Linked DNA regions of Homo sapiens: regions 1 and 2 are each linked to region 3. The links are contacts of gene promoters, found by promoter capture Hi-C in blood cells and fetal thymus (Javierre and others, 2016). All regions are on one chromosome and are shown on one strand. The core of a region is centred on a gene start or on the middle of the fragment in contact, and the rest is flanking DNA. Distances in the headings are between cores, read along the strand shown. Region 1 holds the start of NTSR1 (neurotensin receptor 1). Region 2 holds the start of NTSR1-AS1 (NTSR1 antisense RNA 1). Region 3 overlaps RBBP8NL (RBBP8 N-terminal like).

The links. The method cuts DNA at HindIII sites, captures the fragments that hold promoters and counts their contacts. A CHiCAGO score of 5 or more calls a contact.
Region 1: a contact is called between the fragment with the promoter of NTSR1 here and a fragment that was not itself captured in region 3, in 1 of 17 cell types (M1 macrophages). The highest score is 7.0, in M1 macrophages.
Region 2: the fragment with the promoter of NTSR1-AS1 here is called in contact with a fragment that was not itself captured in region 3 in 2 of 17 cell types (M1 macrophages and M0 macrophages); the score reaches 6.2 in M1 macrophages.

Annotation. Positions count from the first base shown.
Region 1 is chr20:62,707,002-62,712,064 of GRCh38, forward strand. NTSR1 (neurotensin receptor 1) reads left to right here and starts at 1,835. Exons shown (of 4, transcript NM_002531.3): 1 at 1,835-2,920. The coding sequence starts at 2,207. RefSeq lists enhancers at 799-1,312, 1,313-1,825, 2,035-2,581, 2,582-3,126. The HindIII fragment of the contact is 3,349 bases long and covers 654-4,002 here.
Region 2 is chr20:62,732,468-62,736,873 of GRCh38, forward strand. NTSR1-AS1 (NTSR1 antisense RNA 1) reads right to left here and starts at 2,892. Exons shown (of 2, transcript NR_199009.1): 1 at 2,759-2,892; 2 at 1-715. All of the region lies in intron 1 of NTSR1 (neurotensin receptor 1), which reads left to right. RefSeq lists an enhancer at 2,316-3,161. The HindIII fragment of the contact is 3,056 bases long and covers 893-3,948 here.
Region 3 is chr20:62,415,584-62,420,724 of GRCh38, forward strand. It overlaps RBBP8NL (RBBP8 N-terminal like), which reads right to left. Exons shown (of 14, transcript NM_080833.3): 2 at 4,004-4,147; 3 at 2,840-2,882; 4 at 1,641-1,736; 5 at 1,177-1,289; 6 at 581-653; 7 at 205-362; 8 at 1-77. The coding sequence starts at 4,064. Among named protein-coding and RNA genes, the nearest start is that of RBBP8NL, 9.4 kb to the right of the region's middle. The HindIII fragment of the contact is 375 bases long and covers 2,867-3,241 here.

The DNA.
Region 1 (5,063 bases), core at 585-3,084, 290 kb after region 3:
ATTCCCCGTGGAGACCCATCAGTAACAGCCCTGCCCTTCATTCAGCCGCTATTCCCATTTTACAGACGACTCAATCGAGGCACAGAGACGCTAAGCACACTCGCCCAAATGTGAAGTAGCAGGGCCAACATTCAATCCTATCTACTGGCTTCCAGCAAAGGGATCACTGGCGTTTCCTTTGATGCCAAGATTTCTAAGCTCTGATGTTTGTGAGCTGCAGCCCCCTGACAAGAGTATCAGGCTCCGGTTGAACAGAGAAGTCCAAAGCAGGGCGAGAACGGACGAATAATCACAGAGTCCCGCTGCCAGCCACCGGCTCAGAAGCCTTGAATTCTCCTAGCTGGGCGGGCCCGGGAGGGGGTTCCTCAGCCTCCCGCTTCCCTCAACACCCTGCGACCCCCGCCCCAGCCTGCCCAGGTTTCCTGCTCCCAGCACAGCAGGTGCAGCCAGCCATGTGCACAAAGGCCAGGCTGGTTCCCTGGGCTGCACTCGAGCAGCTCCTCCCAGCCCTGCACACATGGGGCAGCAGCTCTACCCAACCTCTCCCAGGGGTTCTGGGGAGGAGGGAGCAGGGGAGGGGGCGGGGAGGGCCCAGAGAAGGGACAGTAGTGCCCTGGGGGCCCCTGGGCAACCCAGACATGGAGGGGGGGGCAAGCTTGTGCCTGGCCACCTATGCCAGTGCCACCAGGTGCTGGGGGGGACACGGAAAGGACAGGAATCTTGCCCTCACCTGGCTCCCGAGCCAGGGGCCGGGGCACCCTGTGAGGACACTCAGAGGGAGGGAGTGTGCAAAGCCTGCAGGGCCTGGGAGGATGCGTGCTGGGGCTGCCTCTCCCAAATCCTGCTGGGGCGCAGGCTCTCAGGGTGGCTTCTGATGACAAATCCAGGCAGTAATAAGGGGCCCAGGGCATCACATCCCATAGCGTCATGAGACCAGCCCAGGGTGCCAGATGCAGGGCCCTGAGTGGGGAGGGTGCTGCTCTGGGCACCTGCTTTCTGCCCTCCCTCATTCACCCCTCCCCAGACTTTGATGAAACCATCTGTGGCTCCCGGCCTCTGCAGGACCCAGCCCCTCAGCTCCTCAGCCCCTGCAGGTGTCCCTCGGTACTGCCTCACGCCATCCTGCCCCAGGTGATAACTATGCCCTGAGCCCCCACCATTTCCACTGGGCACATCCCAGAAATACGCATTCACAGACCAGGCACGCCCATGACTGCGGCCAGATTTTAAAAGGAATCACCAGAAATGTAATCTCCAGTGGTCCTAGAGCCCCCTGGGCACCCAGCTTCTGGCACCCTGTGGACACCCAGGAGTGGGGGTCGGCCCAACCAGCTGCGCAGCCGCCCAGCCCTGCCAGCGGGGAGCTTCCTCCCTCCCTGCCCTCCGGATACACCCTCACCCCAACTGAGCGAGCCCAGGGTTGGGGGAGGTGCATAGTTCCCTTCCTAGCCGGTGCGAGAAATTGCGGAGAACAGGGAAGAGGGTGGCAGGAAGGGTCTGGTGCACGATACCCGCCGCGCCCGCTCGGAATCCTGGTTCCCTGGAGCGCTCACCCCAGCCCGCCCTGCCCCGGGGAGCGCGAGGGGGCGACCCGCCAGGCTGCACCCGGGCGGGGCGGGGATGGCGGCGGGGGCTGCCTCCCTCCTCCGCCGCCACCCCCCACTGCTGGGCGCGCCGCGCGGCCGCCGGCTCCGTGGAGACGCGCAGAGCCGGGAGGGCGCGGGCGCGGCGGGAGGTGTGCGGGGCTGGGGTGCGCGGAGAGCGCGAGGGAGGAGATTCTGAGCGAGGGAGGGGAGCGCGCCCGGGCAGCAGTGCGTGCGCTCCTCCCGGCGCCACAAGCTCGCCCCGCGCAGCCCGAGCCGGGCTGGGCGCTGTCCTCGGGGGCCTGGGGAACCGCGCGGTTTGGAGATCGGAGGCACCTGGAACCCGTGGCAAGCGCCGAGCCGGGAGACAGCCCGAGGAACCACGGGTTCTGGAGCTAGGAGCCGGAAGCTGGGAGTCCGGAGGAGAGCGGAGCCCGGAGCCCGGAGCCCGGGGCGGCGCGTCTGGGTCTGGCGCTTCCCGACTGGACGGCGCGCCCGCTGGTCTTCGCCACGCGCCCTCCCCTGGGCTCCCGTTCATCGGTCCCCGCCTGAGACGCGCCCACTCCTGCCCGGACTTCCAGCCCCGGAGGCGCCGGACAGAGCCGCGGACTCCAGCGCCCACCATGCGCCTCAACAGCTCCGCGCCGGGAACCCCGGGCACGCCGGCCGCCGACCCCTTCCAGCGGGCGCAGGCCGGACTGGAGGAGGCGCTGCTGGCCCCGGGCTTCGGCAACGCTTCGGGCAACGCGTCGGAGCGCGTCCTGGCGGCACCCAGCAGCGAGCTGGACGTGAACACCGACATCTACTCCAAGGTGCTGGTGACCGCCGTGTACCTGGCGCTCTTCGTGGTGGGCACGGTGGGCAACACGGTGACGGCGTTCACGCTGGCGCGGAAGAAGTCGCTGCAGAGCCTGCAGAGCACGGTGCATTACCACCTGGGCAGCCTGGCGCTGTCCGACCTGCTCACCCTGCTGCTGGCCATGCCCGTGGAGCTGTACAACTTCATCTGGGTGCACCACCCCTGGGCCTTCGGCGACGCCGGCTGCCGCGGCTACTACTTCCTGCGCGACGCCTGCACCTACGCCACGGCCCTCAACGTGGCCAGCCTGAGTGTGGAGCGCTACCTGGCCATCTGCCACCCCTTCAAGGCCAAGACCCTCATGTCCCGAAGCCGCACCAAGAAGTTCATCAGCGCCATCTGGCTCGCCTCGGCCCTGCTGGCGGTGCCTATGCTGTTCACCATGGGCGAGCAGAACCGCAGCGCCGACGGCCAGCACGCCGGCGGCCTGGTGTGCACCCCCACCATCCACACTGCCACCGTCAAGGTCGTCATACAGGTGAGCCTCAGTAACCAGCCCCGGGGCTCCCCTCTCCTTCACCCCAAAAGCAGTGCCAGTGGTGTGCCTTCTGGGTAGGGAGTGGGAGAGATGTCACAGAGACAGTCTACTCCTGCGAGGCTGGGAAGGCGGTTGGGGCAGCTTGGGGGCAGCTCCAGAGTTGCCAGGCTCAGCCCCTATCTTCTTCCCTCCTGTTGAGGGGATGGAGCCCCTGCCTGTGACCTCTCTGGTGTTGGTGGCTGGGCCTCGGACATCTCTGAATTCCTTAAGCCTAATGGAAACATGTGCGCTGGCACCTGCGTCTCCAAAGGAAGAGTAACACTTTCATCAGCTTCTCAAAAGACTGTGCCACCAACAGGTGATGTTCCTTCCTCTGCAGAGAAGCCCCCAGACTGGCTCTGCCGGTGCCTCCCAGCTGCCTGCCCTGACCCAAACTTGGGAGTCAGAACAGAACCTGATGCCGTGTTGGGCCAGTTCCTAGTTTAGCCTCAGCTTTCCCATCTGTGTGATGGGGTAGTGATAGCATTGACCTCAGAAGGTAGAGCATTGGAGAGAGGACGCGTGGGAAGTGTTTGCATGGCCCCTGACACATAGAAGGGCTCACAGGCACTATTATTGCGGGATGGTGGGGACGATGTTTCTGCGGGGAAGGTTGTGAGGATCTGCGTGTGGCGGCGGTGTTGTGGTGAGGTGTGTAAAACTGGAGCCGAGTGACTAAGGGCCCTCCAAGGGTCTGAGCAAAGCGCCGTGGGAATGCGGGTGGGAAGCCCCCTTGGGAATCAGTTTGGCTGAGGTTCGTGGCACGGGGGGTTCCAGTGCTGGAGGGGAGGGCTGATCAAACCAAAGCCCCGAGCAGGAGGCTGGTGTCCAGGGAGGAAGTCAGGGCCGGTCGGGAACTTTGAAAGGCATCTTGGAAATGAGCAGCCTTAGAAGTGTGGGGTTTCCTCCATTTCTGGTGGGCTAAGGAAGCCAGAGGGTGAAGGATCCGGGCAGAGTCGCCTACCTCTGCCCAGCTAGAGGGGCCAGGGTGGCTGGCTGTCCCCCCAACTCCCCACACACCAGCATCGCCAGCCTCCCAGCTAAGCTTCTGTAGTTGCCTGGGCACCCCGCGTATGCCAGTATGCCCGGTGGGGGTGAGGGCAGCAGTGCCGGGCAGGGGGTCACCTGTCTGTCACTCCCTGGGCCCTAACTGACCCTCCACTGGCCACCACCCAGGTGGGCTGGGGGGTGGAGGAGGGTAGAACTGAGCTCCCAGTCTCCCTGGCTGCACATAGAACTGGTGGCTACAGGTGTCCCATCTCGGGGAGGCCCCTCCCACAGACACTGGTGGCAGGCAGTGAGTCAGGGCTGCTTTGCTTCTGCGGCGAGAGTCCCTCCCCTCACCAGAGGCAGAAGTAGGCACGGCCTGTGGGGTAAACACAGTGAGAAATGACCTCTCCCTCCCTTTGAGGCTTTATCTGCTCTCCCCAAGCTCCTGTCTTTGATTGGCATTGGCCAGGGGGAACCTCTCCCCAGTCCGCGTGGAGGGGCCCCAGGGGCGACAGCCACTCAGTCCTTCAGAAGGTGGGCAGTGGAGGGGTCAGCGCTGTCACTGCCCACCCAGGAGATGCCCCCACTCAGACCCCGGATCCCCCCACTCAGACCCCCGATCCCCCCGCTCAGATCCCCGATCCCCCCGCTCAGAACCCCGATCCCCCTGCTCCCCTGGCAAAAGGCCAGGAGCTCACCAGCCTCCTGCAGTCCTCAAAAACAAACAGCCGAAAAGCACAGGGGCGTGAGGACAGCTCGGCTCCGCCCCCCGGAAAGTGTCCTCCCCGCGTGCGTGGGCTCTCTGCCAGGTACTTGGGATTGGGCACCTGGGGGACATCACTTTGCCTCCCAAAGCACCACCTGCCCAGCCTTGTTGCTCAGAGGCTGCGAGGCAGATTTGGCCAAGTCACGCTACGGCCGGCCACAGGCACTCGTCCAATCGCAGAGGCCTGTGACGTATCAACCGTAGGACAGCGGCCCCACGCCCTGCAGACGCCATGCTGGCCGAGCGTTGCTGAAGGCACCCTTGGAGAACGTAGTTTCCATTTTTCTTTAAAGGGCTCAGCTGCGTGCCTGGGAGCAGCTGATTACAAGGGTGCTCCTCCATCCGATG
Region 2 (4,406 bases), core at 1,642-4,141, 320 kb after region 3:
GCATGCCTGGAATAAATCCTGTGCTGTCTAATTCTTACCATGTAGCGCTGCATGAGATTCGCTGCTATTTGTGTAATTCTTAGTATGTGGTGCTGGTTGGGAAATCCTGTGGTGTATAATTCTTAGTATGTGATGCTGGATTTGCTGCTGTTTTGTTGAGGGTTTTTGCATCTGTGTTCATGAGACATCCTGGTCTGCGTTTTCCTTTCTTGTAACATCCTCGGTTTTGTTATTGGGGTAATGCCGGCCTCGTAGAGTGAGTTATAAAGTGTTCCTCTGCTTCTATTTCCTGGAAGAGACTGTAGAGAGTATCTATCATCTGTTCCTTAAATGCAAGGTAGAATTCTAAGTCCGTGTCCCTGCGTGGCTCCAGGCACGCTGGTTCCCCATCTGACCCTCCGCTTGCTTTTCCTCGGGCTCTCCCTGCCTGGGCCTGGAGGACCACAGCGGGCACAGGGGGCGGCTCAGGCTGAGAACCAACGGCGCTGACGTCGCCTAAAGGGGGTTCCCAGCTGGCAGCCTCCAGGTGCTGGAATGTTTCTCGGTGAGAAGCCGCCACGGGAGTCTGTGGACTTGTCACATCACCCGCAGGCGTGGCCCTGAGGCCACGTATCCAAGCAGCAGTGCCGTGCATATTCATGTCGGCATTGGACTTGCAAATTCTGAGTGAAGTAAATGTCATCGGCAGTGTGTAGACGTTCTTTCGGAAGAAGATCTGTCAGAGAAAATGCAAGCTGATTACCAGCCTAACAGAGAAATGTGCATCCCGGTCCCCGCAGGGCCACCCTGGAGGCACCTCTGCACCTCCCAGGCACAGCTCTGGGAAGGCTGAAAATTAGCACCAATTAGGGAAGAATGAAGCTCTTGGTTCCCTCCTGAAGCACTTGGTTGAAGCTTGCTGCGCTCCTTTCCGGGAGCAAATGAGCATCTCTCGGGACAGTTGTGTTTCCCTTGGGCAGGGAGCCACTGGCAGCTCCCCAGTGGGAATCGTGCCTTCTAGTCCAGATTTCCACTTTGGAAAGGGAAGGTTCTAGAAAGTTCTGGAAAGCTCGGCTGTGGCTGACTCCTGGCTTAGGGCTCAGGCCTGTCTCACCTAGCAATGCAGGGTGAGCCATGTGGGCTGGCTTCTGGGGATGGGGAGGAGAGATACACACATGGAGAAAAAGAGGGAGATAGAGAAGAGAGAGGGAGAGAGAAAAGGAAAGAGAGGAGAGAGGGAAAGGCAGAGAGAGAAACAGAGGGAGAAACACAAAGAGAGGGAGAGAAGGAGAGAGAGACACAGAGAGAAAGGGAGGAACAGAGGAGAGAGAGGGGAGGAGGGGGAGGGAGACAGCACCCTCTTCTCCCTACCCTTGCCTGGGGTCTCAGCTGAGAGAGGGAAGGCTCTGTGCTGGGGAAGAGGCCTCCAGCAGGGAGTAGTGACTGATGAATGTATGATTGCTACTTTATCTCAATAGAGGATTCGAACAGCCCCCAGGCAGGGTCGCATTTTAAATGATGGTTTTGGGTGCTGAGCCAGCCCAGCTTGGAGGGGGTTTCGTTTCACAGATGAGGAGCCTGAGGCTGGGGGAAGCCACTTGCTCAGATGCACACGGCTGGGGCCGGCGGCAGGTTTGCCCGACCTCGAGTCTGCGCTTCTCATCCTGGAAGCGACCGCCTTGTCCCCTGCGCAGCCTCCTTCTCTGGCTCAGCCACGTGGGTTACTACTGAGTTCACTCTTCAGCCCTGGTGGGGGACGGGCAAGAGATGGGGCGTGAGGGGCGGGCGGAGGCAGCGAGGTCTGGGATGAGAGCTTTTCTGGAGCCTTCTCTGGAGTGTGACCCCCTTCCCCGCAAAAAAAAAAAAAAATCTTGGCTCAGCTCTTGGGCTTCGGTGCAGTAGGGGCTTTGTGGCCGATGCAGAGGAAGCCGAGCTCTGCTCCTGGAAGGACGTGGCCCCTTGTCTTACCCAGGCTTCATTTTGGGGCCATCTTTTTAGGTGGTTGAAAATGAGTAACTCATTCTTGACCTTGTGCAATGCCCACGCCCTGTGTCCGGGGCTGACCTGGAGGCTCTGGGTTCTCTGCTGAGCAGAGCTGGGGCCAAGACCACCCCTGGGGAGCGAGGAGCAGGCGCTGGTGTGCCTGGCCCAGGTGGCTTCCCATAAAAGCTGCAGGCAGCCCTGTCTAATGTGGCAGCCCTGGGCCACACGTGGCCACTGGGCATTGAGACATGGCTGGTCTGAGTGAAGATGAGCTTCAGCCTGAAATCCGCACCGGGTTTTAGAGTTAATGCGGAAAGGCGGTATACAATAGCTCACTAATACCGTTGCAAGTTGATATGATATTTTGAATACATTAAGTTAAATAAGATATCGTATTAAAATTATCATAGCTGTTTCCTTCCACTTTTGTAACATAGCTACTGGTACATTTAAGCCTCACGTGGCCTGCATCCTATTTCCACGGGACTGTGCTGCCCGAGCCCCTCCCTGCTGATGAGAAGCAGCCCTCGGGTGGCTTTGGGGTGTGTCCAGAGCCTGTACAGCCTCCCCTTGGGGTGGGGTGCCGCGTGCGGGGTGCCAGGCACCAGCCGGTGCTGAGGCCCCATGTGGAGGCAGCCCTGCATGATGGGCAGCAACCAGTGGGGTGCCATCGTGTGCGGTGACGTGCACACTAAAGAAAGACGCTCAGCTCCCTCCTCTGCCCCGCCTGGCCGCCAGCTCAGTGCCAAAACCATGGTTAGGGGGTGGGAGGCCACGGGTGCCCTTGGGGACCTACCAGGCCTGCAGGGTCCTTGGCAGAGGGGCAGTGCCTGGCACCAGGAGGACACTGTGCTGGAAGGTCAGCCTGTTCCCACAGCCAGGGATGTGGGGCTCCCAGGTAGCCCCATTCATAGTTATTTGAATTGCTGTGATGGAGGCAGGCGGAAGAGGTGGGACTGCGAGGGAAGGCAGGGGCCCCCCGGGGAGAGAGTGGGTGCCTCCTTCCCTTTCCTCAAAGCCCAACGGCCTTGCAGTGAGACTGCCACTATACAACAAAGAGCCAGCACCGCTGTGCACGCTGGAGTCTCACAGATGAGCCGATTATGTCTTTGTGACAAACACATTATTAGGAGTGAGATGAATTCCTTCTGTGGGCGGGGATGATTCAGAGAGAGGCGTCCCAGCCCCAGGAACAGCCTCCCCGCAAGGTGGCCTCAGCCTCCCCCATGCTCCCCTGGAGGCCGCTCCCTGGCTTGGGGGGTGGGTAACACGGGAGTCCCCCCGACACGGCGAGGTGAGCTCACCTCCTGAGGCTGGCGTGCAGGGAAGTAGGAAAGGGCACACACTGCGACCGGGGACCAGGGACAGGGTCTTCCCCGCTGTGACCTGTGGGGCTGTGCAGGGGGCGGGAGCAGCCCCCATCCCAAAAGGAAATGGGACAGGAGTTGCCAAGAACAGTTCCCCTTACCCTCCAATTCCTCACGGGTTCAGCACTTTCTCTGAGGGGGTCTGGTCTGAATCCCAAATTCAGATTCTGTATTCAACTGTTCCCTTCATTACAAAGAACAAATTTCCGAGCCCAGTAATTCCCGTTTAAATTTGTCAATTTTCATCCCTCGATAGAAATCAGTATGTGGTGATCACAAAAGCCGGGGTATTAGCCCAGTGGACAGTTTGTTCTGAAACTTGTCCCTTCGGGGCAGGGCCTGGGTTAGGAGGCCTGAGATCTGCCTGGAGCCTGGGGTGCCTCGGGCAGGGGCATCGTGGCTGGGGATTCTCTGCACTTGCCCCATGGAGCAGGGCGGGAAGGGAAGCCAGGCTCCTTTCCCTGTCTGGGTCTGGGGCTGCTGCCCTTGGCAGCTGGGGAGACCCTGGGACCCCAGAGGCAGAGCCCCACTCTCTGTACCCTCAGGCGCAATGCCCTGAAAGACAGGCGCCACTTTGTCTTCAGAAAGGCAGGAACCAAACCCCTCTCACAGTTCCAGAAGCTTCCCTGAGTCCCAGTTTAGACGCAGAATCTCCTCTGTGGATCACTCCAACTGGGGAACCAGGAGAGGGGGTTTGGGAGAGGAGGGAAGTGGCTTCCACCTGTGGGTGGGGCAAAGAGAGGGCTCCCAGCTATGCAGGGCGGGCCCAAACCTCCAGCAGAGCCCCTTTCCCAGCGAGGACTCCGAGGACTCCGAGGCCCTGGCCTGTGGCTCCCAGGGAACAACCTGGACCCTCAGCATAGGACCCGCAAGCTGAGACCCTCCTCTGTTTTACTGCTTCATTTTCCATCTGTGACCAGGGCCCAGGCCACATGCACACACCTGGCGTAGGAGTTACTTCGTGATGTGTTTGGCTGTGTCCCCACCCAAAATCTCATGGGAATTGTAATCCCCATAATGCCCCGTGTCAAGGGCAGGACCAGGGGGAGGTGACTGGATCGTGGGGGCGGTTCCCCC
Region 3 (5,141 bases), core at 1,804-4,303:
TGGGGCTCGCGACTCAGGCAGGGTGGCCCCTGGGGAGATTTTGGCCACTGGAGATGTCCTGTGCCCTGCTGGCTTTTCTGTGGGAGGAGAAGCCAGGGGCAAGAGCTTGGGAGGTGCTCAGAGGGGCAGCGGCCCAGCCCCAGGGGGAGGATCCCTGGTCCTGCGGGGGCCCAGCCTCCCAGCCTCACCCGGTCCCCACAGCACCTTCTCCCCGTAGGCCCACGCCCTGGTGGTCTTCCTCAGCCTCCTCGTGGCCTCCCGGTGGCTTCTCTGTGATGGCCTTCCAGCCACCAGGGGAGGGGAGCAGCAGGGGTGAGGGGGGGTCCGAGGTGCCCTCCTTGGCCCGGGGCTTGGGCCTGTCTCTAGAGGGGAGGCAGAGACAGGGAGGGTGAGGGAGAGCAGCATCTCGGGAGATGATCAGAAAAGCCGGGCCCACTCCTGGGTGACCCCAGGTGACGCAGCTGTCCCGACACTGCCTGAGAGTCCTCCATGGGCGGTTCCCCCAGGGACGTGTGCTGGGTGCTGCTCGGGGGGTGCTGGGGAGTTGGGTGTCTGAGCCCTGGGACCCTTTCCCACTCACCCCAGGCCCCGAAGCCGCTTCACCTCCTCCTTCAAGGTCTCGTTCTCTTCCTTCAGCCCGTTCATCTCGTTGGCTGCAAAAGGCACTGATGAGCAAAGCAGCCAGGGGTTGGGGGGGACAGGGGCAGGGGTGGGGTCGTCACAGCACCAGGGAAGCCCCTCAGCAGTGCCCCCAGCACGTAGCCCAGGGCCTGGCAGGCAGCAGGGGCGCCGTGGATGCTGGCTGCGTGCATGGCTGATTGGATGCTGTTGAATGAGCAGTGCCGGCCTCGAGGGAAGGGGGCTTGCCCTTGGTCATCAGGAGGGCCACTGGGGCCTCAGCACTGCAGGACCTTCCGCATCTCAGGAAGGAGGCCGCGCCCAGTGGGGGCCGGGATGCCCCCAGCCCAGGGGAGGGAGGCTGTGTTGAGGGAGGGCCACACCAGCGCCGGCTGGGGGCTTTGTGTGTTTGTCTGTAGATTGGGTTGTGAGGTTCCCCCAGTGGTGTGGGGCCGATCGTCCTGCCTCCTTTCCCCATGCCCCTACATGGGCTGAACAGGCCTGGGGTCGCCTGGCCCCGTGGGAGAGGACCCCGGTTGTCTGGTGGGTGGGGCTCACTGAGGATGAAGATGCGCTGCAGGTTCTGCAGGTGGGAGCTCTCGAACTCCTGCTGCCGCTTCCTGGCCAGCTCCTGGGTGACCATGCAGCGGTCGCACAGGCCGGCCCGCAGCCTGCAGGGATGGGGACGCAGGGGGTGTGAGGGATGGCACGGAAGCCACAGAGGGCCTGGGACACTCACTGCCCCACTGCTGGGAAGTGCCCCTGCCCTTTGCAAACTATTCCGTAGAGCCCCAGGCCTCTTCCCACCCCGTGGGCTAGGTGTCCCATGTTCCACTGAGTTTGGGGAGAAATCTTGAAAATGCAATTTCCTTAAGGCTCTGAGATGTCCTGCAGTGGGGAAACCTTCCTGGTTCAGTTTATCCTGGAGTTTCCCAAACTCATTCTCCGAGGAGCCCTGTCACCTCCTCCTCTCCTGAGCCCACCGGTCCTGGCCATGCTGCGAGGTGTCCTCCCAGGCCCACCTGTTCTCCAGCACCCGCAGGTTCTCCTTCAGTGTCTTCTGCTGTTCCCGGAGCTGGTGGTTCTTGGAGAAGAGCTCCTCGATCCTCTGGGCGTCCCTGTGGTGGGAAACAGCTAAAGTGGGGTCCTGTTCCATCCAGGAAGCCACACGCTGTCCCCACCATCCAGCCTGGGGGGGCAGCGCGATTCGGCACCTGCAGCCTTGGTCTGGGGGCAACGCCTAACCCGGTGCCCCCCTCCCAGTCATCTGCACGCTCCTCTGTGACGTCTGTCCCGTCCACGCAGCCCCCCCAGTCATCTGCACGCTCCTCTGTGACGTCTGTCCCGTCCACGCAACGCCCCCCCAGTCATCTGCACGCTCCTCTGTGACGTCTGTTCCGTCCACGCACCACCCCCCCCAGTCATCTGCACGCTCCTCTGTGACGTCTGTCCCGTCCACGCACCCCCCCCAGTCATCTGCACGCTCCTCTGTGATGTCTGTCCTGTCCACGCAACGCCCCCCCAGTCATCTGCACGCTCCTCTGTGACGTCTGTCCTGTCCACACACCACCCCCCCGGTCATCTGCACGCTCCTCTGTGACGTCTGTCCTGTCCACGCAACGCCCCCCCAGTCATCTGCACGCTCCTCTGTCACGTCTGTCCTGTCCACGCAACGCCCCCCCAGTCATCTGCACGCTCCTCTGTGACGTCTGTCCTGTCCACGCAACGCCCCCCCAGTCATCTGCACGCTCCTCTGTGACGTCTGTCCTGTCCACACACCGCCCCCCCTGTCATCTGCACGCTCCTCTGTGACGTCTGTCCTGTCCACGCACCACTTTAGTGCCACAGCACAGGCAGGACCATAGCCGGGTCTATAAGCCAGAACGCAGGGAGCCTGCCCGCCCGCCAGTGTCTGACCAGACATGACCCCAGCTCACCGTGAACGTATTGTTGATATTCTGATCATGATCCTGGGGTGGGAGAAGCCCCGAGTAGGGGGCTTGCCCCGCCCCTGGGAGGCCGACGCAACTGGGTTCAAGTGCTGGCTTCGCTGCCTGCTCACCGTGTGACCTTGGACAAGTGACTCCCCCCGCCCCCACACTGAGCCTCAGTTTCCCTTCTGCACCATAGGACGGTGGTAGTGCTGGCACACTGGGGCTTCAGGGGGATGAAGTGGCCAGTGTGGTCCCTGTGAGGAGGGGCCCTGCTTGGCCTGACTCACCGGCACCTCTCTGAGTTCAGTTCCAGAAGCTTGTTCTGCAGGCCTGGGGGAGCAAGCAGAGGGGCGGGGGGTCAGGCCCAGCTGCTGCTTCACCTTCAGTGTCCCCACCACGGGGTCTGGGCAGAGCTGCAATGTGGCACTCCTGTCCCCTGCACCCCCTGGGGGAGCCCTGCCAGGTGAGCCCCTGTCTGTGCCCAGGCACGGGGCTGCCTGAGGCTCGGTGGTCTCGGCCTAGCATCTGTTGCTTCCCCTGGGGTCTCTGCCTCCGGCATCTGTCTGGGGGTGTCTGGGGGTGAGCAGGGACCCTGGTGCCACAAGTGACCAGCCACCTGTGAAAGGTAGAGGGACCGAGGGGCCATTTTGTGTGTGTGTGTGTGTCATAGCTAGTGTTGAAATAAGATAAGCTTCTGGGGCGGACCCCACCAGACCCTCTCCTTGCCGTATCTTGGGGATCCAACCTGGGCCTGGCTAGCCCCAGCAGCCCCACCTCTCTGGGTTGCCTAGGAGGCAGCCGGGTCCTTGGACCTCCAGGTGGGTGTGGGTGCTCAGTGGAAAGACCACGGGGAGGTGCTGGCCCTGGGACTGGACTGGGGGTGGTGTGGGGGCTGCGGCCCTGTCCCTCGTGGGGGAAGTGGACAGGGGTGGGGCCTGGGGCGTGTCCTAGAAGGAAGAGAAGAGTTGCAGCTCAGTGCCTTGACATGTTCTGGATGGGTCCAGAGAGCCATAAGCTCCTGTTTCTGGAAGTGGCTGTCTCTGCCCTGGTGAGCTCAGCAGGCCGGCCAGGGTGGGTACTTCTTTCTGCCACGCTGGAGGCCGGCCCACGGGAGAACAAAGCATGGGCAGCATGGGGCCTGCGGGTGGCAGGTGGCCATGAGGTGTTGGTGGCAACCCTTGAAAGTGCCCCTCCCCCTCGGGGTCACACTCTGGGAGTGGCTCGAGGACATCCCCGCTTGAGGTCAGCACTCGGGCCCAGGCAGGGTGTCTGCCACGTTGTAGCTCTGGGCCTTGGGTCAGGACTCCCCTGCCTGGGCCAAAAAGACGGGGTCCATTCCCTGACTTGGTGGGAATTGGAGGTGATCATGGGTGCACAGTGGCCTGCTCCGACCCTTAGGTGAGGGCTGTGGAGACCCCTCCCTAGCCTGGCATCTGTCCCTGGCCCCTCACCCAGGACTTCCTTCTCGTGGATCTCCTTCAGCCTGTTCAGCGACTCCATGAAGCTCTCCATGGCTCCCTGTGGCCCTGGCCCGGGCCCCTCTGCGCTGGGGTTGTGGAGACGCCTGCAGCCTCTACTGCCCCTCTGTGTCCATCCTGAAGAGGAGGAAGAGGGGACAGGGATCCGCTCAGGAAGGGCTTGTGGGCTGTGGAGTCCAGGAGAGGATTGGGGCTCCTTGTGTCTGTATGGAGCAGACCCCATGCCATGCTGTAGGGGCTACTCATGGGAGGTGGCCTGGAGGCTCCCGAACCCCACGGGCAGGCACAGAGATAGTACATTGTGTGGCTTCCTCCCACACGTATGTGGCCGGGGGCCAGAGGGCAGGGTGCTGGCTGCCGTGCGGGAGGGGCTGGAGGGGCCAGGGAGCATCTGGGGTGAGTGCCGGCACCTCTGAGCCACCCCGTTCTCCCCAGGTATCCAGCCCATCAGTGCCTGGCCTGTCCCCACATAAGCCCTTCCCCTGGCACCTCAATGGAGGGACAGGGAAGCCTGGCAAGAGCTGGATGGTGCTGGTGGCACCTGCCCAGCTGTGAAGCTGGGAGTCAGACCTCACCAGTAAGAGCCCCACAGACCCTACCATGCCACTGTCCACACCCCGGCCCCAACACCACTGTCACAGCACCTCCTTCCCTCTCACCAGAGCCCTGTACTCAGTTCCCTCCTGGGATCTCTGTCCCCCTCCAATGCCGTGGCAGCTTCAATCCTGTCCCACAGGCACACACACACACACACACACACACACACACACACACACACACAGATAGCATGTGCACACAACACACATGCACATATATGCAAAAGACACACACAGAGCATGTACACACATAACACACATGCACAAAGACAGACACACCACACAGCATGTATACACACAACACACAGGCACACACCCAGAGTTACACACATACAACACATATGTACACAGACAGGGATGCCCACACACAACACACAGAGACACATAGACATGGGTATACGCAGACACATGCTGACAACAAAGCTGTGCAGACATAGAGACACAGCTACACATGCAGTTGCAGGTACACGGAAACACACACAGCCACAGCAGCCCCCTCTGCCCGGAAGCGGCTC